7 separate regions of the Homo sapiens genome follow, and all the other regions are linked to region 1. The links are contacts of gene promoters, found by promoter capture Hi-C in blood cells and fetal thymus (Javierre and others, 2016). All regions are on one chromosome and are shown on one strand. Each heading gives the region's core, a stretch centred on a gene start or on the middle of the fragment in contact. The rest is flanking DNA. Distances are from core to core; before and after follow the strand shown.

The links. The method cuts DNA at HindIII sites, captures the fragments that hold promoters and counts their contacts. A CHiCAGO score of 5 or more calls a contact.
Region 2: a contact is called between a fragment that was not itself captured here and the fragment with the promoter of DMKN in region 1, in 6 of 17 cell types (naive CD8 T cells, total B cells, naive CD4 T cells and 3 more). The highest score is 6.2, in naive CD8 T cells.
Region 3: a fragment that was not itself captured here is called in contact with the fragment with the promoter of DMKN in region 1 in 11 of 17 cell types (total B cells, naive B cells, monocytes and 8 more); the score reaches 11.2 in total B cells.
Region 4: the fragment with the promoter of APLP1 here is called in contact with the fragment with the promoter of DMKN in region 1 in 2 of 17 cell types (M2 macrophages and M1 macrophages); the score reaches 5.6 in M2 macrophages.
Region 5: a contact is called between a fragment that was not itself captured here and the fragment with the promoter of DMKN in region 1, in 2 of 17 cell types (M0 macrophages and M2 macrophages). The highest score is 7.6, in M0 macrophages.
Region 6: a fragment that was not itself captured here is called in contact with the fragment with the promoter of DMKN in region 1 in 6 of 17 cell types (monocytes, total B cells, neutrophils and 3 more); the score reaches 11.1 in monocytes.
Region 7: a contact is called between a fragment that was not itself captured here and the fragment with the promoter of DMKN in region 1, in 4 of 17 cell types (M1 macrophages, M0 macrophages, M2 macrophages and 1 more). The highest score is 7.4, in M1 macrophages.

The regions. Positions count from the first base shown.
Region 1 is chr19:35,512,096-35,515,427 of GRCh38, forward strand. It overlaps DMKN (dermokine), which reads right to left and starts at 1,554. Exons shown (of 16, transcript NM_033317.5): 1 at 955-1,554; 2 at 495-695; 3 at 326-382. The coding sequence starts at 1,380. The HindIII fragment of the contact is 13,607 bases long and covers 1-3,332 here.
Region 2 is chr19:35,135,319-35,138,650 of GRCh38, forward strand. It overlaps a transcript of FXYD1 not described here. Among named protein-coding and RNA genes, the nearest start is that of FXYD1, 1.8 kb to the right of the region's middle. The HindIII fragment of the contact is 1,017 bases long and covers 1,220-2,236 here.
Region 3 is chr19:35,161,043-35,164,374 of GRCh38, forward strand. It overlaps FXYD5 (FXYD domain containing ion transport regulator 5), which reads left to right. Exons shown (of 9, transcript NM_014164.6): 6 at 3,114-3,203. Among named protein-coding and RNA genes, the nearest start is that of FXYD5, 8.0 kb to the left of the region's middle. The HindIII fragment of the contact is 159 bases long and covers 1,752-1,910 here.
Region 4 is chr19:35,866,633-35,869,964 of GRCh38, forward strand. APLP1 (amyloid beta precursor like protein 1) reads left to right here and starts at 1,942. Exons shown (of 17, transcript NM_001024807.3): 1 at 1,942-2,151; 2 at 3,035-3,178. The coding sequence starts at 2,005. It overlaps LOC107985317 (a long non-coding RNA gene), which reads right to left and starts at 2,725. Exons shown (of 4, transcript XR_001753932.2): 1 at 2,460-2,725; 2 at 1,243-1,498. KIRREL2 (kirre like nephrin family adhesion molecule 2) reads left to right here. Exons shown (of 15, transcript NM_199180.4): 15 at 1-504. RefSeq lists silencers at 1,763-2,022, 2,113-2,182. The HindIII fragment of the contact is 13,044 bases long and covers 1-3,332 here.
Region 5 is chr19:35,849,446-35,852,777 of GRCh38, forward strand. It overlaps NPHS1 (NPHS1 adhesion molecule, nephrin), which reads right to left and starts at 3,059. Exons shown (of 29, transcript NM_004646.4): 1 at 2,335-3,059; 2 at 2,012-2,227; 3 at 1,817-1,939; 4 at 1,516-1,644; 5 at 919-1,000; 6 at 105-208. The coding sequence starts at 2,392. It also overlaps a transcript of KIRREL2 not described here. RefSeq lists enhancers at 1,705-2,345, 2,346-2,987. The HindIII fragment of the contact is 835 bases long and covers 834-1,668 here.
Region 6 is chr19:35,183,366-35,186,697 of GRCh38, forward strand. No RefSeq gene overlaps it. Among named protein-coding and RNA genes, the nearest start is that of FXYD5, 30 kb to the left of the region's middle. The HindIII fragment of the contact is 8,299 bases long and covers 1-3,332 here.
Region 7 is chr19:35,831,893-35,835,224 of GRCh38, forward strand. The region is part of intron 23 of NPHS1 (NPHS1 adhesion molecule, nephrin); the gene reads right to left. Among named protein-coding and RNA genes, the nearest start is that of NPHS1, 19 kb to the right of the region's middle. The HindIII fragment of the contact is 4,977 bases long and covers 1-3,332 here.

The DNA of each region.
Region 1 (3,332 bases), core at 304-2,803:
CAAGTGATTCTCCTGCCTCCGCCTCCCAAGTGGCTGCAATTACAGGCGCATGCCACTATGACCGGCTGATTTTTGTATTTTTAGTGAAGACAGGGTTTCACCATGTTGACCAGGCTGGTCTTGAACTCCTGACCTCAGGTGATCCACGTGCCTTGGCCTCCCAAAGTGCTGGGATTACAGGTGTGAGCCACCTCGCCCAGCCCCATCTCTTCCTCTCACCCCAATCCCTCCACTCCCCCATCTTGCTTTCCTCTTTGTCTTTCCCCAGCTCTCTGTAGCCTGCACCCAGTGGCTTCTTCATTTGTTCCCAGCCCCTTCCTCTTACCCCTTCATTCTGGTTGCTGGCTCTCACTGAACCATAGCCAGGCTGGGCCACAGCTCCCTGCAGAGAGGGTGAGACTGAGAGTAGGATCCAGAGGGACCAGGGAGGCACGCGGAGCATGTGGGCTTGGAGGGAGGGAGGTGGCAGGTAGCAGGTCTGGGGGTGACTTTACCTGAGTGTTGGTCCCAAAGTTTGGTGGCCCTCCATTGCCTCCTTGACCCCAGGGAGCTCCCTGAGGATTCATTCCAAAGCTGCCTGCTGAGTTTCCGGGGTATCCGTGGACCCACGGAGTCCCCAGACCTCCAGGATTGCCCTGGCCCTGGCCTCCAAGGCCACCTTGAGAGCCAAAGATGCCATGGCCTCCAGAAGTTTCCTGCAAGAACAACATACCTGCACTTAGTGGGACCATCTCTGACCCTGGTAGAGAAGAGCCAGGGCAAATCATAAAGAGACCAGGAGAGAGACAGGCAGAGGGACTCCAGGGTGGCATAGGAGGGGGGCAGAACATAGAAGGAAGCTGCCCCAGAAGCCTGCAAGTAAGAGATCCATCCATCCTTTCAACCGTTTCCCAAGAATCTCAGCCCAGCAGCCCACAGCCTCCCATTTCCACATGCAGCCCCACAGCCACTCACCCAAGCACCATTGTGGCCAGGCACCCCCTGCCAGGAGCCGCGGACAGCATCTGCTCCGTGTCGAATGACATCTTCTGCCTGTCTGCCAATCTCGTGCCCAGTGTTTCCCAGAGCATGGGCTGCTTCCCCGACCCTGTTGCCCAAAGCATCTGCTACGCCAAAGCCTGGAACCTGCCTGACTCCAGTGCCAACTGCTTCTCTGGTCCCTTGGCCAAGGGCCTCACTGACTTTAGAGCCAGCTGCCCCTCCGGCCTCTTTGCCAATGGCCTTTCCCACCCCTTCGCTCAGGGCGTCTCCCAGGCCATGTCCAAGGGCCTCCCCAATATTTGTCCCAGTGCTTTCCTCTCCGCTCTGCAGGGGGCCAGCCTCCCCACTGCCCAGGCAGAGGGCCAGCAGGAGGCAGGCCAGGGGCCCCTGGAACTTCATCTCTGCCCAGCCCCCTCTCTCTCCAGAGTGTCTTCCTCCCACCAGGGTCTCCTCCTTGCCGCCCTTGCTCTGCGTCTCTGTGCCCTCCTCTGTCCTCCTCCTTCCGACTCCCTGTCCTCCCTCCCTCTGGGTCTGCAGCCTTCTCTCTCCTGTCCTCAACTGCCTGGGCTTCTCAGAGTCCACCTCCCTGTCACTACTCCTTATACTCTAGGTTGGGAGAAGGTGACAGGGCTGGGCAACCTGAGGTCCCTCCCCGCAGTGACTCAGGGCCCAGCCACCAATAGGGTAATCAGCTGTTATTGTGAGTCTGAGAGTCTCTGTCGAAACAGAGAGTGAGCCGCATCAGGGAGGGAGGGAGAAATGGATGAGGTGATGCAAAAGTGCTCCCATTTCCCAACCCCAGGCATTCGGGGAGCTGGGTGGGGGCAGGGGCATCTAAGGAGACAGGTTGTCGTTGGCTCCTGGAGGCGGTGGGGTGGGGGCAGACTTAGAAGAGAGGAGTTACTGGCAGGACCCCACCAAAGGAGTAAGGACAGGGAAGCCCCAGGGGACAGGACCCACCCAGGCTCAGCCAGCCTGGCTCAGGGGCTCCAGAGTGACAGGCATTGCCCGTCCTCGGCCTGGCCTTTCTCGGTTTCAGCACCTCAGCCTCTCCTCTCCCTCTCCCCTCCCGCATTGCCACCTACAGGTGACTGCCTTCTTGTTCCTCCACACCTTCCAGCCCACAGAGAGAGACTGGCAAACACGGGGCTGCGTGTCAGTTTCTGAGATTCTGGGGAGAGCCCCCGGGGGGACCCTCGGTGTCGGGGAAGGAGGTGGCCATAGCCCTTTGAGTGGTCAGCAGGGTGTCTCAGCGTTCAGGCTGCTCCCGGCTGAGAAAGCTGGGCGCGGAGCAGGGCAGCCAGGCGCGCCAGCCACCCCCAGGGAACGAGTGGGAGGGAAGGCCAAGGGAGGGAGCCGCTGACCCAGGCACCCATCCTGTTTACGCAGCCCTAGAGGGGCACGTGTGAGTATAAGCGCCTATGAGGGGCGGGACTGGGCCAGCTCACCCCACCCATCCCCCAGGCCAGGGGCCAGGGCAGCAATGGCAAGCGAGAAGAGGGTAGCGCAAGGTCAGGAGCCATCCGTGAGAGCCACGGCCCTCTCCCCAGTCCCAGCTCGGGATACAGAACCTGGGAGCCTCCCCCCGCCTCACCCCTGCCCAGCAAGTGTGGCTGCTTCTCTATTCCCAGGGGCCACAGGGCCTCCCACTGTTTCGTATCACTGGGGTTCATCGCCCAGTTAGGAGGGGCCAGTTTCCATCAGCCTTTCTCAATGTCTCTCAGTCAGTCTCTCTCTTCTCTCCACCCCAATATCCGCACCCCAGCTTATAACATCCAACACTTCTTACCTTGTAAACACTATCCCCATCTGTCCTCCTCAGCTCCTACTTCCCTGTTATTCCATCTCTGACTCGTTAATGATGATAATAGCGATGGTGGTAATAATAATAATAATAATAATAATAATTACAGCTCCAGCTTATCAGCGGTTCTGTATGTACCCAGCATTGGACTAAGCACAAGCAGTTTAAGAATTATACAACTCTGGGAGATGGTTCTTTTTTTCTAGAGACAGGGTCTTGCCCAGGCTGGAGTACACTGGCACAATTGTAGCTCACTGCAGCATCGACCTCCTGGGCTCAAGCGATCCTCCTGTCTCAGTCTCCCAAGTAGCTGGGACTATAGATGCACACCAGCACACCCAGCTAATTTTTTTTTTCTTTTTGAGACAGAGTCTTACTCTGTTGCCCAGGCTGAAGTGCAATGGCACGATCTTGGCTCACTGCAACCTCCGCCTCCCAGGTTCAAGTGATTATCCTGCCTCAGCCTCCCAAGTAGCTGGGATTACAGGCGCATGCTGGGCCTGTAATCCCACGCTGGGCTAATTTTTGTGTTTTTAGTAGAGACAGG
Region 2 (3,332 bases), core at 478-2,977, 380 kb before region 1:
GCCCCACCACTCCCGCCAGCCCCCTCCCCAGATTCCCCACTCAACCCTATTGGGGGAGCAGGAGGACGATGTCACCAGGGTGGGGACCAGATGGCTCTGCATTCTGGAGCAGGGTGGGAGGAGAGGCCCTGGGGGGGCTGGGGACATCCCGTCCTGGCCACTCTCTGCCAGCCCCCTCCCCTGGCTACAGGAGGGTGTGTTGGGCGCTGTCAGTGGGGCCAGATCACGTCCAGCTGCTCCCTCTGGTGGTCATACTCGGCAGGACCTCTGCCCGGCCCCAAGCCCTTAGCCTCCCTCCCCTACCCTGAAATTAACCCTCTAGTGGCCAACACCCACTGGGGGACAGCACCAACCCGAGGACATGATGATGATGAAGATGATGATGATGGTGAAGATGATGATGATGATGCCACCCCTTCTTCAGCGTCTACTCTGAGCCTGGCCTTGTCCTAAAAGCTCATCTATTAACTCATTCTGATCTTGCCAAAGCCCTCTGAAGTTAGTGCTGTCATCATCACCACTTTACAGCTGGAGGAAGTGGAGACAGAGGTCAGGGAACCTGAACTCTAGGTTACCCAGCTGAGGGCACAGCCGGGATTCAAACCCAGGCATCCGGCTCCAGGTTATTTTGCATTCTTTCTTTGGAGATCAGAGTTCATGGATAGATGGATAATTGGTTGTTTTAATCTGGACTAAATTTTAGTCATTTGGATAGATTCTGTCCACTAAATAAGAAACATAAGTAAATGACACTTGTTAGCTAAGATGAAATAGTAGTAATGTTTATACTCACTCAGCCTTCACAGCCACCCTGTGAGATGGGCAGTACTGCTATCCCTGCTTTACAGATGGGGAAACTGAGGCACAGGGAAGTTATGTGATTAGTTTCCTGGCTCTAGTCAGCTCTAAACCTAACCCCTAGGCTGTACCACCTCATCGCCTGGGGACGAGACTCATCCTGTGATTGAGGAATGCATGCAGCCTCTCTTGACACTGACGCCCACGCCCAGAAGCCTCGTTGGAGGATAAGGGGGCTTAACAGCTTGGAGGTCATGCAGATCTGGGTTCCAGGCCCAGTCCTGTGTGGCCTCAGTTTTCCCATCTGTCAAACGGGGACAATCGTGGCACCCGCTTCCCAGTTGTGGAGAGGACTCAGGTGATGGAGGCAACTCATCCTTTTGGGGTTCAGCACAAGGTGGGCATCCCACAGTGGTCGGCAAGCTTGGGGGTGGGCTCCGGATCCAGCTCCTAGAGGAGCAGACCCCAGCAGCTTGTGGTTTGAGCCATGCCCGTCAGCTCTCAGTTTCCTTCACTGACTATTGGGTATGATAAACAGGGTCCCTGAAAGTGAAGTTGGAGAGCTGAGTGCCAGGGGCACAGAGGGATCTGAACCCACTCTCATAGGGTGCCCAGCCCAGCAGTCCAGTTCACAAGGAGGAGGATGACAAGGACAATAATAATAGGCCAGGCACGGTGGCTCATTTCTGTAATCCCACATTTTGGCAGGCTGAAGTGGGAGGATCGCTTGGGGCCAGGAGTTCAAGACAAGCCTGGGCAACATAGAGAAACCCCGACTGTACAAAAAATTAAAAAATTAGCCAGGCATGGTGTCGCACGCCCATAGTCCCAGCTACTCAGGAAGCTGAGGTGGGAGAATCACTTGAGCCCATGAGGTTGAGGCTACAGTGAGCTATGATTGTGCCATTGCACTTCAGCCTGGGTGACAGAGCAAGACCCGGTCTCAAACAAACAAACAAAAAATGAAGTTAATCATAAGACAATGTCAAGTTCAGAGACCTCTGAGCCCTGTCCAGGATTATACACGTGATCTTAGTGATTTTTCCATTTTGGAGCATGTGAAAATGAGGCACAGAGCTGCTCAAGTTCACACAACCAGGAGTGCAGTGCCTGGGCCATTCCAGGTTTCCCTGTCACCAGGACCTGTAAACCTGGCCTGCCCATGGGGACGCCAGGTGTGTTGTCCCCGACAAGAGCTCAGGGGAAGGAAAGTGTGGGGTTAAATACATATCTGTGGTTTTGGAATGTGTGAACATGCAAGTGTGTCAGCCTGCGCATCTGTCACCGTGGCCAACCATGTGCCTGTTTGCTCAAGCATAGGGTGTGAACCAGTGTGTGTGTTTCTGCTTTTGTGGGTATGTGTGAGAGCGGCGGGTTGTCCTTGATGGTGTTTCTGCTTGTGTATCTGTGCCCATGGAAATCTGTCTGTGTGTACACAAGCTTGTTGGCCTTCCTATCTTTGGGACCATGTAGGAGTGCTGGCTGCATGTCTGTACCTTTGGGGTTTTTTTGTTTTGTTTTTGTTTTTGAGACAGAGTCTCGCTCTGTTGCCCAGGCTAGAGTGCAGTGGCATGATCTCAGCTCACTGCAAGCTCTGCCTCCCGGGCTCAAGTGACTCTCCTGCCTCAGCCTCCGGAGTAGCCGTGATTACAGGCGCACGCCACCACACCCAGCTAATTTTTGTATATTTTTTTAGTAGAGACGAGCTCTCGTCGGGTTGGCCAGGCTGGTGTTGAACTCCTGGCCTCAAGTGATCCTCCCGCCTTGGCCTCCCAAAGTGCTGGGAGTACAGGTGTGAGCCACCGTACCTGGCCATGTTTGGCCATGCATCTTAGAATGCATTTATGTGCGGTGTGCACATACTTGTGTGTTTCTGTATGGCCATTTGTGGGTGGGTCTTCACATAAACATGCATTTTTGTGGCCAGTTTGTGAGTGTAGATGGTGATGTGGCTATGTCTTTGACTGTATCTCTGTGTGGCCATCCATCTACATGAGCGTGCGTGGGTCTGTGTAGACATAAATGTGCTTGTTCTGGTATTTTGTGACTGGCATAAAAGGTGTTGGCTGTGTGTCCGGGTCTTTGGGTTTCTCTATCAGTGTGTCATTCTGTGTGTGTCTGCTTCTATGGATGTACATACATACATGGTTTTGTCTGGTTTTGTACCTGTATATCTGGGTCTTTGGGATTGTGTGTGGGTGTGTGTGTGTGGTGCATTTCTGGGGATCTCACCACAGCAGATAGCGCACATGCGCGCGCACACACACACACACACACACACCTCCCTCCCGTCCTCTAAAACAGCCCTGTTAAGGACCTCACGGAGCACTGGGATCGGGGGTCAGTGGGCTCCTGGGCAGTCAGGCTGGGTGACCTTCGGCCCTGGCTGGACCCAGTTCCCAGGGGGCAGCCGCCTCAGCCCAAAAGCTCTTGGAGGCGTGTGTGTTTGTGTGTGTGTGTGTTCACAACCCTGTCCTCCACAATCCTCCTAGCCTCTCCAGCCTGCCTGCTGGCTGCCTGCTGCTGCTCTCTCT
Region 3 (3,332 bases), core at 581-3,080, 350 kb before region 1:
AGGGGCAGCGTGCAGTATGCAGTGTTTCCCTAACTGATAGACTTTGGAACTTTCTTTCTGTCAGTTCCCCTCGGAGGGCTGGGGCTATAGAATGTGCCTGTGGATATTTCTTTTTTGTACATCTCCTTAATGTTAGAGCAGGAGCTTTTCAGTTGCAAAATATAGAAAATTCACCTTAAACACACACACACACACACACACACACAAAAGAATGATTGGCTATATAAGTTCTGGAAAGTCCAGAAGTAGCCAACTTCAGGCATAGCTGGATCAAGGCGAGTAAGCACTGTCATGAGTGCTTTGTTCCCTCTCTTGGTTCTGTTGTCTTCATTCTCTACTAACTTCTCCCCTCTTGATGGCAGAGATGGTCCCATAGTTCTAACTTTAGGTCACATACGTGGTGGCTAGAGAACAAAATCTTTCCCATTATTTCTAGCCTGAGGCCTAGAATTGACTCTCATTGGTTCAGCTGGAGTCACATGCTCATGTCTGAACCAATGAGAGCCTGAGAAATGAGCTGCTCTCATTGGTCAGGCCTGAGTCTTGTGCCCCACCCTGGGGCTAGAGAAGAGGCTCAGCCAGCCATGCCTGAACCACATAGACCAAGAGTCAGGGAAGAGGGGATTTTCCTTTGGACAAGTGAGTTAGTATTACCAGAAGGTGTGGGAAAGGAGACTGAGCTGAGATAAGGCAACAGATCGCCTCTAATGCCTGCGTGATGATCCTTATTTGAGGGGCAGCCCCACACTGGAAAGTGTTGTAGAGTAGGCCACTCCCAGAGAGACATGTACAGTTGTGCAGACTGGGTACTGAACGAGAGCACCACCTCTCGGGCAATGCCATTCCCTTTGTCGGTCTTTATAATTGTTCCAGTTTTCTAGTGATAGCAGCAAAGCATCTCATTCTTACAGAATCTATCTATTAAAACAATCCTACAATGGATGGAAATAAAGTGCTTTACAGAAGGGAACTTTTCTAGTTTGTACAAAAGTGCACCTGTAGGGGTGGGGGATAGCAGCTGTGTCCACACTTATCAATGATAAAGCATTCTCACATCACTGCATTAATTTACTGAGTCTTTGCTGACCTGAGTTGCTCTATGTATTGGTCCATGTTCCTGGATATATGTGACAGAAATTCATCAAGGACAAATGGCTGTCACTGCTGAGCCTCTGGGTTGCCTAGAGGCTGGGCATGAAAGCCCCCAGGGCCTCTCTTCCTCCTCTATCTTTGCTTCTCTTCCACCTAGGAAGGAAATGGCTCATGTTATTTGAGCCTCCTAGCTCAAAACTTCCAGACTTCACCTAGGGTTTTAATCTGCTCAGGTTACGATAACAAAATACCACAGACTGGATGGCTTAAACAATAGGAATTCATTTCTCCCGGTTCTGGAGATGGGAAGTCCAAGATCAAGGTGCCAGAAGGGTTGGTGTCTGTCGAGGGCTCCCCTTGGGTCACAGACAGCCATTCTCTTGCTCTGTCTTCACCATGTCCTCTCCATGTGTGGGTGGGCTTGTGAGCTTGAAAGCAAGCTCTCTGGTGTCTTCTTATAAGGGCACTAATCCCATCATGAGGGCCCCACCCTCATGATCCTATCTAACCCTAATTACCTCCCAAAGGCCCTCGCTCCAAAATACCATCACATGGAATTTGGTGGGGTGGATAGAATTCAGTCTATAGTACCTAGCTGTCACTCAATATCCCTACTTGGGATTTCAAAGGTCTCAGGGAAGGACCAGACTGAGGTCACAAGCTTCCTTTTGTAGCCTGGGTTATAACTGGGGAAGGGAGGGCAATGTCTTCCCACAAAGAAAGGGAGAGCTGTTCCAGAAGGAGGAAGAGTGCTGAGCAGACAGTAATAGCAATGGCTGACTTTTGCTGAGAGCTTGTTCATGCTGGGCACTGTGCTAAGCTTCTGTGTATTCAGTCATTTGATGCTTGTGATCATCCTGTGTGGTGGGAACTGTCATTACTCCCATTTTACAGGAAAAGGAACTGAGGCCCAGAGAGGTTACTCAGCTTGCCCTAGGCAATACAGCCAAGAGTGGCAGAACCGGAATTTGAGTCCAGACTGTCTCACCCCAGGGTGCATGAGCACCACACACCAGTATGGCTGTCCTTCGCATTCCTGTGGTCTCTGCCGTGGATCTGGCTTATACCTTCCTCTGGGCAATGCATTCCCTGAATATCTTGTAATCCTTGGTTGCCAGTTCCTATTTAGGGTGTGGGGCACTGAGATAATTCCAGGGAACTTGGGTTTCACGAGGGAGCTTCTCTGTCTGCTGGCTTCTTGTTGAGGCCTCCGATGTGGTGTGGGGGCACTTCTCAGTGCTTGGGGGAGGCCTTTTCTTTGGAGGTACTGATTTTTTTTTTTTTTTCAAGAGAAGAATCCTTTGGTATTTTCGGTCTGGGGGCAGAGGTGATATTCAGAATAGTTTTGTTGTTGTTGTTGTTTTTGAGACAGAGTGTTGCTCTGTTGCCCAGACTGGAGTGCAGTGGCGAAATCTTGGCTCACTGCAATCTCCACCTCCCGAGTTCAGGCAATTCTCCTGCCTCAGCCTCCCAAGTATCTGGGATTACAGGTGTGTGCCACCAGGCCCAGTTAATTTTTGTATTTTTAGTAGAGGCGGGGTTTCACCATGTTGGCCAGACTGGTCTTGAGCTCTTGGCTTCAGGTGATCTGCCCGCCTCAGTCTCCCAAAGTGCTGGGGTTTACAGACATGAGCCACTGCACCCAGCCAATATTCAGAATGTTTTACAAGTTTCTCCAGACTATGTAGCTGGGTCAGAGTCCTTGGCAGGTGTTGCCCTTTCGTTCCTTTATCTCCTGGATTATAGTGTGGGCCAGAAGGTCCTAGGAGAGGGGTCTGGAGTCCCTCGGGGATTGAGGCAGATCAGATAGTCGCAACCGGGGCTATGTGCTTATTTCAGCATTTCAATGCCTGTCATTACTTATTGCCTCTAGGTGTGGAGTAGGGGGGATGCCTGACCCTGCACACCAGCTGTGTAGATGTGGGAGAGGGGTTTCTTCCAGATGCAGACTCTCAGTAATATCCCTTGTTTCTGCCTCCATGGCTCACTCCTGCCCTCCACTGATCTGGCCACTCTCTCAGCTCATCCCACTGATGACACCACGACGCTCTCTGAGAGACCATCCCCAAGCACAGACGTCCAGACAGACCCCCAGACCCTCAAGCCATCTGGTTAGTAACTGCCTCCCCAGACTGGAAACAGGCTATTTTCTGTTCACTGTGTATTTCCAGCACCTGGAGTACAGCCCAGCACAGAATAGTTCTCAGTAAAGACGTGATGGGAAAGTAAATGACTTCAAG
Region 4 (3,332 bases), core at 692-3,191, 350 kb after region 1:
GAGCATTTGTATACAGTCAGCTCAGCCAAAGGAGATGCCCCAAGTGGGAGCAACATGGCCACCCAATATGCCCACCTATTCCCCGGTGTAAAAGAGATTCAAGATGGCAGGTAGGCCCTTTGAGGAGAGATGGGGACAGGGCAGTGGGTGTTGGGAGTTTGGGGCCGGGATGGAAGTTGTTTCTAGCCACTGAAAGAAGATATTTCAAGATGACCATCTGCATTGAGAGGAAAGGTAGCATAGGATAGATGAAGATGAAGAGCATACCAGGCCCCACCCTGGCTCTCCCTGAGGGGAACTTTGCTCGGCCAATGGAAATGCAGCCAAGATGGCCATATACTCCCTAGGAACCCAAGATGGCCACCATCTTGATTTTACTTTCCTTAAAGACTCAGAAAGACTTGGACCCAAGGAGTGGGGATACAGTGAGAATTACCACTGTTGGGGCAAAATATTGGGATAAAAATATTTATGTTTAATAATAAAAAAAAGTCAAAGAGGCAAGTGTGTCTTAGGGAGTCTACTGGCATTATCACTCTCCACCAAGGAAGGGGTCCCTTAGACCTGTCCCAAGGTCCCTCCTCTACCCTAGCCTATGAGGTGGCTGTAGGAGTAAAACTGTGAGCCACCTCTCAGCCTCTTGCTACCTGCAAAGCACTCTAGGCTCTTTTTTTTTTTTTCTTGAGACAAGATCTGGCTCTATGGCCCACATTGGAGTGCAGTGGCATGATCTCAGCCCACTGCTACCTCTGCATCCTGGGCTCAAGCCATCCTTCCACCTCAGCCTCCCAAGTAGCTGGGACTACAGGTGCATGCCACCACACCCAGCTAATTTTTGTATTTGTTTGTAGACAGGGTTTCACCATGTTGGCCAGGCTGGTCTCAAACTCCTGACCTCAAGTGATCCGCCCACCTAGGCCTCCCAATGTGCTGGGATTACAGGCATGAGCCACTGTGCCCAGCCATGGGCTCTTTTAATATACATCTTCACACACACACACACACACACACACACGCACACACACACATGAGTTGCAAACAGAAAAGACACACACATAGGCATGTATGCACAGACACACGCATAGATGTCCACACAGTTGCACACAAGTGACAGGGCTGCCCCAGGGGTCCTGGGGAAGACTGAATTCTAACTCTCATTAGAGGAGACAAACAAGTGAGCCCTGAAGTGGAGCAGGGAAGGGGAGACTATGGGTAGGAAAATGGCAATCCCCTGGTCCTTACAGCAAGCGTGGAGATCCAGACCCTAATCCTGAGGTGCTGCATCCACAGTGGGCATGGTGCTGGTGCCTGCTTGGATGATCCTTAAAGAAAGGTCCTGGGGGCTTTGGTTCATGGATCCTTGAGCTAGGAGTTAAAGGTCCAGGCCCCTGGGACCCTTGGGAAGCAGAGCAAGAAGAGTGAACTCCTGGGTCTGAAGGAGAATGGGCTGGGGGCTTGGTCTCTGGTCCTGAGAGAGAAGGTGCCCAGACTTCTGGATCTGAAAGAGGAAGGGACTAGGTCTCAACTGCTGCCTTCTTGACTGGGGACATTTTGGAGGCCTGTATTCCTGAGCCCTCAACAGAGGAATGTACTAGGGGATGGGGGTCTCTGATGCTTGCATCCTTGGAAAAGGACAAAACTGTGAGTGTCTGGGTCTAAAGAGGGTGAGAGTCCTGCGGGAGGACTCAAAATCCACAACGGGCGGAGCCCATAGCCGGACTCCTGGCTGGGCCCTTCATGGGGCGGGACGCCTGGAATCTCGAGGGGCGGGGGCCTGGCGCAGGCTCCCGCCCGGGGTTCCCGAGCTGCTCCACTCTGCGCGAAGCCGCCACGCTATTGTCCTGACCAGGAAGGCGGGGCCGGCGCGGGGCGGGGCTGGCGGCGCCGGCGCAGCCCGGGGGCGGCGGGAGGAGGAGGTGGCGGCGGTGGCGCTGGGAGCTCCTGTCACCGCTGGGGCCGGGCCGGGCGGGAGTGCAGGGGACGTGAGGGCGCAAGGGCCGGGACATGGGGCCCGCCAGCCCCGCTGCTCGCGGTCTAAGTCGCCGCCCGGGCCAGCCGCCGCTGCCGCTGCTGCTGCCACTATTGCTGCTGCTTCTGCGCGCGCAGCCCGCCATCGGGAGCCTGGCCGGTGGGAGCCCCGGCGCGGCCGAGGTGAGGCCGGGCCGGGTCCTGGGGGATGGGGGAAGGGGCGGGACCGGGTCTCTGGACGCCGGCGCGGACATGTCCAGGGCAGAAAGCGCGGTCTTTCCAGCCAGGTGGTCAGCCCCCAGGCGCCCCCAATCACATTTATGAACCCAGGGTTCCAGGCCCCAGCTCCCCCATCATGCGACGTCCCAGCCCCCTCCCATCTCGAGCATAGGAACTGGTCTATTCAGAGCCCCTGGTCCCAGAAGTCCAGCCCCCTCTCCAGACCCAGGTGACTCGGCCCCAACCCCCTCCCGCCTGGACATAGGACCCACCAAGCAGCGAGGCATTTAGATCCAATAATCCAGACCCCTTGTATTCTCTGGACCCATATGGAGGCCCTTGCAGCCTCCCAGGACCCAGGAGTCCAGTCCTTCAGTCACCACCCACCCCAACCAGATGTAGCTCTCCAGTCCTCAAGGACCTGGTGTCCAGGACTGTAGGCCCCTGAAGCCAGGCCTTGTCAGCTTTGCATCCTGCAACGGGAGCCTGAGCAAGGGATGGAGGGAGGAGGGGCCAGAACTCCTGGGTTCTGGCCTCCTCCTCCGCGATTCAGGTTTAACCCCTTCGGGCTCCAGAGCGGCTGCGCTGGGGTGGGGGCGGAGTCTGTCTCCGCGGCAACAAGGCAGAAAGAATCCCGGGGGACCCAGGTCGCCATAGCAACGGGAGCGCTGGGGCGCCCCCGCCCTACGGGAGCTGTTTCCCAGGGAACGGTGCCTCCATGGAGGCGGTGTGCGGTGCTTGGGGGAGGGGGCTGGTGCTGGGGGTCTCGGTCCTAGGGAGCAAAGAACCAGGGGACCCTCATGCCAACGCCCCCCGAGCCCTCACTGTCCTTTCCACTTCCATCCAGGCCCCGGGGTCGGCCCAGGTGGCTGGACTATGCGGGCGCCTAACCCTTCACCGGGACCTGCGCACCGGCCGCTGGGAACCAGACCCACAGCGCTCTCGACGCTGTCTCCGGGACCCGCAGCGCGTGCTGGAGTACTGCAGACAGGTGGGCGGGGCCGAACGGGAGAGGCGGGGCCGCCCATAGAAAGCTAGACTTGAAAAAGGCGTGGTCCAGGGTGCTGCGCGATCTAAGGCGTGGAGGCTGGGGGGCGTGGCCAATAAAGAGGCGCAACTATGCTAGGGGCAGGGGACCTGTTTTG
Region 5 (3,332 bases), core at 1-2,500, 340 kb after region 1:
GTTTCTCTGAGTGCCTGAATTTCCATAATCCCTGTGATCCCCCCACACCCCCCAGTGCCTGCTCCCCATCCTCAGCGCCCTAGTTGGCCCAGTTCTCCACTTACACAGAACATTCACGGTGAATGAGGCCTTGATGGGGGCCTCCAGTGCTGGGCTAGACGCCTCACAGACCAGCAACTGCCTATTATCTGAGCTCCGGGGTGTCACCCTGGGATGAGAAGTCAGGGTTATAGAGTCAGAGTCATCATCTGAAATTTGGGGAGTCAGGGAGAAGAGGTGGGGATGTCACCTCTGGTCCCCACACCTGGTCTAAGTCCCCATGCTGATCTCCTCTGGGATCCAGGGTTCCATGGGAGAGATTTTGGGGGTGAACAGTGAGAATTGGAGCCTAGAGAGCCCCACATCTGACCAAAACTTTAGTGCTTGGGACTCTAGAACTGAGGTTCCCATGAAGTTTTTTTGTTTGTTTATTTGTTTGTTTGTCTTTTGAGACAGAATCTGGCTCTATCACCCAGGCTGGAGTGCAGTGGTACAATCTCAGCTCACTGCAACCTCCACTTCTTGGGTTCAAGTGATTCTCCTGCCTCAGCCCCCTGAGGAGCTGGGAGTACAGGCATGCGCCACCACACCCGGCTAATTTTTGTATTTTTAGTGAAAACAGGGTTTCACCATGTTGACCCAGCTGATCTTGAACTCCTGACCTCAGGTGATCCGCCCACCTCAGCCTCCCAAAGTGCTGGGATTACAGGCATGAGCCACCACCTCTGTTCCCCATGAAGAAGCTTTGAGAGTCAGGATGAAGAATTGGGTCCCAGATGTTCATACCTAGCCCAAGCTTCATGCTTGCATCCCTGGGGTCTGGGGTTCCCATGGGGAAAATTAGGGGTCAAGGTTGGGGGGTTGTTTCAGTTTCCACACCTGGCTGTGGCCTCCACAGTGAAGAGTTTCTGCTGGGAGCCCTCGTTCACGTTTGCAGAGATGTCAGATATTGTCTGTCCACCTTGGGGCAGCAAGAGGGCTAGAGGGGTTCCAGGCTCCCCGCAAGATAGATTCTGGGGAGCATGGCCTGGAAGTCCTCAGGGTGGGTGCGATGCCCCCTCCCTCCTCGTTCTAGAGGAAAAGGGCCTGGGGCAGAGCTGCATCCCCTCCCGACTTTCTGGACTGCCTGAATGCCGCAGTCTTCAGTGCTGGGTCCTGGGCCTCCCCGCTCTTCTCAACTCCTTGCTGGGTTGTACCATGCACCCTATCCCTCAGCTTCTCATGTCTGCACCAGCGCTACTGCCCATATTTCTATCTGGGCCTCAGCCTTGTGCTGGTTGCTGCCGCCCTCGATGTGCCCTCGCATCCACTGGGTCCCACACTGGCCTCAGCATCTCCCCACACCTTCTCCTGGGTCCCCATCCCAGGGATGACATCTTTTCTGGGGCCCTTAGAAGGGTACTGGTCAGGAACACACACCCTTCCCACTCCAGAGGCTTCATGCTGCCCCCTGCCACCCAGTTCACCCACACTCACTCAGGAGAATGGTGATGTCAGGTGCTGGCTTCGCGTCCCCAGACACACAGTTGACCACGTACTCCTGCCCAGCTACCCAGGTGACCATGGTGCCTGCCTCTGGGGTCAGCAGGAGCAGCTTGGGAGGAACTGGTGAGAGAAGGGTCTGGGGTAAGCTTCCAGCACTGAGAAGGACTTGAAGATTGGAGTTCGGTACCCAGAGTCTGGGAGAGGAGAGGCTGGGGGCTTGGACTTCCGGGTTGCGGGGTAGGGGAGGGCTTGAAGCCCAGACTCATGGGTCCTGGGCGTCTCTCACCCATACCCAGGATGGAGAGGATCACTCTGGGAGACACGAGCTCGGGCCCCATCTCAGAGCGGCCGACCTGGCACTCATACTCCGCGTCATCGCTGAGGTCACAGGCCTCGATGTGCAGGTGGAATTCACCTGCAGGGGGAGCCGGAAGTCAGGGCCGCAGCTTCCGCTGGTGGCTGAGGGTCTCAGGCTCTGATCCCTTACCTCTAGCAGGGTCCCCTTCCAGGCGGTACCTCGGGAAGCCTGGGATCCTGGGGTCGGGGCCCAGGAGCAGCCCATCTTTGGCCCATTGCACCGCACTGCCAGGGGTGCTGACCCCACAACGCAGCTCCACTGAGGCCCCCTCCACCACCGTCAGGTTTTCAGGCAGGGCCCAGAAGCCCCGGGGAACGGAGGCAGGAATCGCCAACTGCGCCAGGCCTGAGGACACAGCGCGGTGCAAGGAAAGGGCAGAGGGTTTGTCTAGGGAAGGTAAGTGGGAAATGGGGGCCACTTGGCGCTGGGTACAAGGCTGGGATCCCACTCACCTTCAGTCAGCAGCCCCAGGAGCAGGAGAGAAGCCCTGAGCGTCGTCCCCAGGGCCATCACAGGTCCCCCTACTGTGACCCCCACAGCGCCCGCTGCCAGCCACCTGCGTCTGTCTGGCTTTCTCTGGGTCCCTCTCTGTGTGTCTCTGCCACCTGCTTTTCTTTTTTATCTCTTTCCGTTACTCTCCTCCCTTTCTCGTTTTCCTCTTCCCCTCTTCCCTGTGAGTATCTCTCTCTGTCTTGCTCTCAGTCTCAATCTCTGAGTCTCTTTCTCTGTCTCTTTAAAAAAACTTTTTTTTCTTTTTTCTTTTTTTTTTCTTTTTTTTTTTTTTAGAGACGGGGTCTCACTATGTTGGCCAGGTTGATCTCAGACTCTTTCCTTCAAGCCATCCTCCCACCTTGGCCTCCCCAAGTGTTGGGATTACAGGCGTGAGCCACTGCGCCCAGTCTCTTTATCTTTCCATCTTTCTCTCCTTGTCTAAGCCGTTCTCTCTCCTTTTGTCTCTGTCTCTTCCTCTCTCTCTGTCTCTCTCTCTCTCTCTCTCTCAATCTCTATCTTCTCTCCTGCCACCCCTCACTCCTGCTCCTTGTCTCACTACTCACAGCCTTTCAAGAAGGACCTGCAGCCCAGAGTCCAGCAGGCCAGGAGCCTAGGAGAGCGATGAGGCTGATGCAGGCACTGGCAGAGTCAGCCCTGCTCTCTGACCCAGCTTGAGCTCATTCTCACAGTGCAACCTCCCCCAGGTACCTTCCAGAGCCCCCAGCTCTGGCCTCTGCCCAGCAGGCTCCTCCCAGCTGGCCCAGCTGGAGCATAAAATCCCCTGTCAGCACATGCCAGGCGCGTTCCTCGGTGCCTCCCCAGCCTCCGTGACCCCAGGGCCTGGCTTAGGCTGGGAAGATGGGAGAAGTCAGATCAAGGTGGTCTCCCAGCTCAGCAGGGGAGCAGCCAGCTGGGCCCCCAGCTCTTCCTTGCCCTGATACATGACCTTGGCAAGTCT
Region 6 (3,332 bases), core at 388-2,887, 330 kb before region 1:
CCTGAAGTCAGGAATTTGAGAGCATCCTGGCCAACATGGCAAAACCATGTCTCTACTAAAAATACAAAAACTAGCCAGGCATGATGGTGCATGCCTATAGTCCCAGCTACTTGGGAGGCTGAGGCAGAAGAATCGTTTGAACCCTGGAGGCGGAGGTTGCAGTGAGCCAAGGTCGTGCCACCGTACTCCAGCCTGGGCAACAGAGTGAGACAACATCCCCCGCCCAAAAAAATCAGGAAAACAGTTCATGATCAGAATGAAAAAAAATCAGTAAAGAGATGGATATCATAAAAAAAAACACATAAATTTTGGAGCTGAAGACTTAATAAATGATTTTTTTTTTTTTTTTTTTGAAACAGAGTCTTGCTCTTGTCACCCAGGCTGGAGTGCAATGGCATGATCTTGGCTCACTGCAACCTCTGCCTCCCAGGTTCAAGCAATTCTTCTGCCCCAACCTACTGAGTAGCTGGGATTACAGGCCCCTGCCACCATGCCCAGCTAATTTTTGTATTTTTAGTAGAGACGGGGTTTCGCCATGTTGGCCAGGCTGGTCTCGAACTCCTGACCTGGTGATCTGCCCACCTCAGCCTCCCAAAGTGCTAGAATTACAGGCGTGAGCCACCGATCCCGGCCAATAAATGAAATTTAAAATATAATTGAGAGCTTCAACAACAAACTAGGTCAAGCAGAAGAAAGAATTTCTAAACTTGAAGACAGGTCTCTTTTGAAATAACTCAATCAGACAAAAAATAAAATAAAAAAGAATGAAGGAAGCCTACAAGACCTATGGGACATTGTTAAGCAAACAGATATTCCAATTTCCAAAAGGAAAAGAGATGAGAAAAGACACAGAAATCCTATGTAATAAAGTAATAGCTGAGAACTTCCAAAGTCTCGGGAAAGGTATGGACATCCAGATTCAGGATGCTCAAAAGTCCCCAAATAGATTCAACCCAAAAAGGTCCTCTCTGTAGCACATTCTGGTCAAACTGTCAAAAGTTGAAGACCATGAGGGAATTTGAAAAACAGCAAGAGAAAAGCATCAAGTCACATATAAGGGAATCCCCATTAGACTAATAGAAGACTTCTCAGCAGAAACCTTATATTACAGGAGCGAATGGGATGATATATTCTAAGTGATGAAAGAAAAAAACCTGGCAGCCAAGAATACTGTAACAGCAAATCTATCCTTTAGAAATGAAGGAGTCATAAAGTCTTTCCCAGACAAGCAAAAACTGAGGGAATTTATTACCACTAAAGTAGCCTTACAAGAAATCCTCAAGGAGTAGTAAATCAGCAAATTATCTGAATAGGCATTTCTCAAAAGAAGACATACAAATGACCAACAAGTATATATGAAAAATATTCAACATCATTAATCATCTGGCAAATGCAAATTGATACTACAATAAGATATCATCTCACTCCACTTAGAATGGCTGTTATCAAAGAGAAAAAATAACAAAAGCTGGCAAGGATGCAGAGGAAAAGGAACTCTTATACACTGTTGGTGGAAATGTAAATTAGTACAATCATACTGGAAAACAGTATGGAGGCTCCTTAAAAACACCTAAAAATAGAACTATCCTATCTATGATCCAGCAATACACTCTAGGGTATATATTCAGAGGACAGGAAATGAGTATGTCAAAGAGATATCTGTACTTATATGCCAAAGATAAGGTAAGCATGGTTACTATAGTTGATAGTGAAGTCAAAATAGTAATAAGAATAATGTGACTCAAAGAGACCTTTGGCATTCACTACTTTATCATGGTATGCCTCGAAATGAAATAGATGGGGGAGCCTACTAAACTCTTGCTTGATCTGTCTAGGTGGGTAAGTTCTGAGTCTGGCAGACTTGCAGCACCATTCTCAATAGCCAAGATATGGAATCAACGTAAGTGTTTTTCAAGAGATGAATGGATAAAGAAAATGTGGTACAGATACACAATGGAATACTATTCCACCGTAAAAATAATGAAATCTTGTCATTTGTGGCAACATTAATGAGCCTGTAAGACATTATGTTAGGTGAATTAAGCCAAGCATGGGAAGATAAATACCACATATTCTCATTCATATGTGGAAGCTAAGAAAGTTGATATCATAGAAGTAGAGAATGTAATAGTGGTTACTAGAGGCTGGATAGGGGTTGAAGGGGATAGGAAGATGTTGGCAAATGGATACACAATTACAGCTAGATAGGAAAAATAACTTCCAGCATTCCTTAGCACTGTAGGATGACTATAATTAGCAATGATTTATTGCACCATTCCTCAGGACAATCAACCAGTCTGCTGATGGCTAATTAATTACGTCGAACTGTCTCTTTTTTAATTTTCTTTTCTTTTTTGAGACAGAGTCTCGCTCTTGTCACCTAGGCTTGAGTGCAATGGAACAATCTCGGCTCATTGCAACCTCCACCTCCCAGGTTCAAGAGATTCTCCTGCCTCAGCCTCCTGAGTAGCTGGGATTATAGGCATCCATCACCACACCCAGCTAATTTTCATATTTTTAGTGAAGACAGGGTTTCATCATGTTGGCCAGGCTGGTCTCAAACTGCTGACCTCAGGTGTTCCACCCATCGCAGCCTCCCAAAATGTTGGGATTACAGGTGTGAGCCACTGCGCCCAGCCACATTGAACTGTTCCTGTCATGGAAAGGGCAACTCTTTTTTCTTATTTTAATTTTTTAATTTTTGTAATAGAATTCGCTTACCATACAATTCACATGCCATACAGTTCACACATTTAAAGCATACAAGCCGATCTGATTATTTCACATTGCATGCCTGTATCAAAACATCTCATGTTCTCCATAAATAAATACACCTATGATGTACCCACAGCAATTAAAAATTTTTAAAAATCATGTACAAGTCAATGGTTTTTAGTATATCCATAGATATGTACAGCCATCATCACGATCAATTTAAAAACATTTTTTTTTTTTGAGAGAGAGTCTTGCTCTGTCACCCAGGCTGGAGTGCAGTGGCATGATCACGGCTCACTGCAAACTTGGCCTCCCGGGTTTACGCCTTTCTCCTGCCTCAGCCTCCCGAGTAGCTGGGACTACAGGTGCCCGCCACCACGCCCAGCTAATTTTTTGTATTTTTAGTAGAGCCGGGATTTCACCATGTTAGCCAGGATTGTCTCGATCTCCTGACCTCGTGATCCACCTGCCTCGGCCTCCCAAAGCGCTGGGATTACAGGTGTGAGCCACCGTGCCCAGACCAATTTTAAAATATTTTTATCACCCCCACAAAAGAAACCCAATGCTCCATAGCTATTTTCCTCCTGTTCCCAAATGTCTCAGCCCTAAGCAACCAC
Region 7 (3,332 bases), core at 180-2,679, 320 kb after region 1:
CTGTGCCCACCCTTTCTGCCCACCCAAGGGCAGGTGGCTTCTTTCTTAAGTCAAGCCATTAGCAAAACTTCCTCCGTTTGCTTGAACTCTGCAAACTCAGAACGGAACTCTGGACTCAGGAGGGAGCTTCAGCTCGTTAGCTGGGCACTGAAGACTTTCTGTGGTCCAGCCTCTTCCCACGCCTCCAGCCATGCCCACCAAACTTAGACCCTGGTACTGGACTGTCCAGCCACACAAATCAACCACCAGCTGTTTCCAGAATCACTGAAGCAAATTCACACCTCAGAGCTTTGGAATAGTTAAGTGTCTGTCCTCAAATGTCCTTTCTTCTCAAGCAAACTTCTGTTTGCCTTTCAAATTCTATCTCAAGGTCAGGCGCTGCAGCACATGCCTGTAATCCCAGCATGTTGGGAGGTCAAGGTGGGAGAATCGCTTGAGCCTAGGAGCTCAAGACCAGCCTAGGCAACATAGTGAGGCTGATTCTTTACAAAAAAAATTAAAAATTTAGCAGCATGGTGGTGCATGTCTATAGTCCCAGCTACTCGGGACACTGAAGCAAGAGGATTGCTTGAACCTGGTAAGTCAAGGCTCCAGTGAGCTATGATAGCACCACTGCACTCCAGCCTGGGCAGCAGAGCAAGACCCTGCCTCTGAAAAAAAAATCCCATCTCAAGGACTTCTTTATTTTATTTTGTTTTTTAATTAAGACGGAGTTGGCTGGGCACGGTGGCTCACGCCTATAATCCCAGCACTCTGGGAGGCTGAGGGGTTGGATCACAAGGTCAGGAGTTCAAAACCAGCCTGGCCGATATGGTAAAACCCTGTCTCTACTAAAATACAAAAAATTAGCTGGGTGTGGTGGCAGGCACCTGTAGTCCCAGTTACTTGGGAGGCTGAGGCAGGGGAATCACTTGAACTGGGGAGGCAGAGGTTGCAGTGAGCCGAGATCACGCTACTGCACTCCAGCCTGGGTGACAGAATGAGACCCTGTCTCAAAAAAAAAAAAAAAAAAAAAAGAGTCTCACTCTTTCACCCAGGCTGGAGTGCAGTGGCATGATCTTGGCTCACTGCAACCTCCACCTGCAGGGTTCAAGCGATTCTTCTCCCTCAGCCTCCCAAGTAGCTGGGATTACAGGCGCATGCCACCACACCCGGCTAATTTTTTTTTTTTTTGTATTTTTAATAGAGACGGAGTTTCGCCATGTTGGACAGGCTGTTCTTGAACTCCTGGCTTCAAGTGGTCTGCCCACCTTGGCGTCCCAAAGTGCTGGCATTATAGGCGCGAGCCACCGTGCCCAGCCTCAAATGACTTCTTTCCACCAACTTCCATCCCAGCCAATATCAGGCTGACTTGGCTGCTATATCCCTGAGGACAAGGCTGAACCCCTCTAAGTAGGCATCTGTTGGGCGGGCAATCTCCCCTGTCTTCTACTAATAGCACTTTTTTCCCCTGGGGAGAACAGCCACTCCCCAATCTCAGTCTTGGGTTCAGGCAGGACTCCACAGTGGGCACATGGCCCGGCCTGGAAAATAAGAGTCTCCATTCCTCTCTCCACAGTGATTGTTTAGACACAGGCATTTGACCCAACGTGTGTTTTTAACAAAACATTTAGGACAATTCTACTAGCTGTCAAGAAGATGGAGGTGGAGGAGGGCTTCTCTGCCCCTCTGATTGAAGAAACTCAGAAAGAAGCCACCACAGATGAAGGCAAAGTTGAGAGAGGGTGAGAAACAGATCGCTGGTGAGATTTTTGAGCACCTGAAAGTGGCCACACTTGGAATTTTTTATTTCATATACCAAGACTTTTTCTTTTTTTTCTTGAGACAGGGTCTCAACTCTGTTGCCCAGGCTGCAGTGCAGTGGCGTGAGCTCGGCTCATTGAAGGCTCAACCTCCTGGGCTCAATCAATCCTCCCGCATCAGCCTCCTGAGTAGCTGGGACTGCAGGCATGCACTGCCATGCCTGGCTAATTTTTTTTGTTTTTGTTTTATAGAGATGGGGTTTCACCATGTTGCCCAGGTTTGTCTCCAACGTCTGGGCTCAAGTGATCTACCTGCCTCAGCCTCCCAAAGTTCCGGGATTATAGGCATGAGCCACTGTGCCCAGCCAAGCCATTCTTTTTCGTGTTGACAAAACAGCTGCATTTCTGTCACTTGCAACCTTTTTCTCGGGCTCTGAAGGGGATTTTTTTGCCAAATGGTTGCAATCATCTCCCAGTAGTCACATCCTTGAGTGCGGGGCCTTTCCACACTGACTCTGTGTTGAGCCATGTGACTTGCTTTGGCCAATGAGACACAACTATGACGGAATCAGCTAGTAAATTGCTGCTTTTGACCCCCGTGACCACCTCCATGTGAAAAAGTCAAGAAGAGACACGCGCCCAGTTATCTCCATTGTTCCAACCAAGAGCCAGATGACTATCAGAAGTGTGGGAAGGGGGCAACCCTAGACCACCCAGTCCAGTGGAGCTGCCAGCTGACTGCAGAGATGATTTAAGCCAGCCCAGACCAGCACTGTTCCGCCAGACTCAGAATCATGAGGAAGAATGTTGCTATAAGCACCCATGTTTGGGGTGGTTCATTATACAGCAAAAGCTAACTGATGCAGGCTTCTTACAGGACATGGAGTGAGCTAATTCTTACGGAATTAAACTAAATTTGGAAGAGAAGAAAATTTATCACTCCAGGCAAGAGGAAGATCTAAGAAAAAAAAAATTGGCCAGATGCAGTGGCTCACGCCTGTAATCCCAGCACTTTGGGAGGCTGAGGTGGGTGAATCATGAGGTCAGGAGTTAAAGACCATCCTGGCTAACGCGGTGAAACCTCATCTCTACTAAAAATACAAAAAATTAGCTGGGCGTGTTGGCACGTGCCTGTAGTCCCAGCTACTCGGGAGGCTGAGGCAGGAGAGGAAGCCGGGAGGTGGAGATAGCAGTCAGCCGAGATCGCACCACTGCACTCCAGCCTGGGCAACAAACAGAGCAAGAATCCATCTCAAAAAATAAAAAAATAAAAAAAAAAAATGCCGAGTGCCGTAGCTCATGCCTGTTATCCCAGCACTTTGGGAAGCTGAGGCAGGCAGATCACTTGAGGTCGGGAGTTCGAGACCAGCCTGGCCAACATGGTGAAACCCCGTCCCTACTAAAAAAGTACAACAATTAGCCAGGTGTGGTGGCAGGTGCCTGTAATCCCAGCAACTCGGGAGGCTAAGGCAAAAGAATCGCTTGAACCTGGGAGGTGGAGGTTGCAGTGAGCCAAGATTTTGCCACTTCACTCCAGCCTGGGCAACAGAATGAGACTCTGTCTCAAAAAAAAAAAAAAAAAAAAGAAAG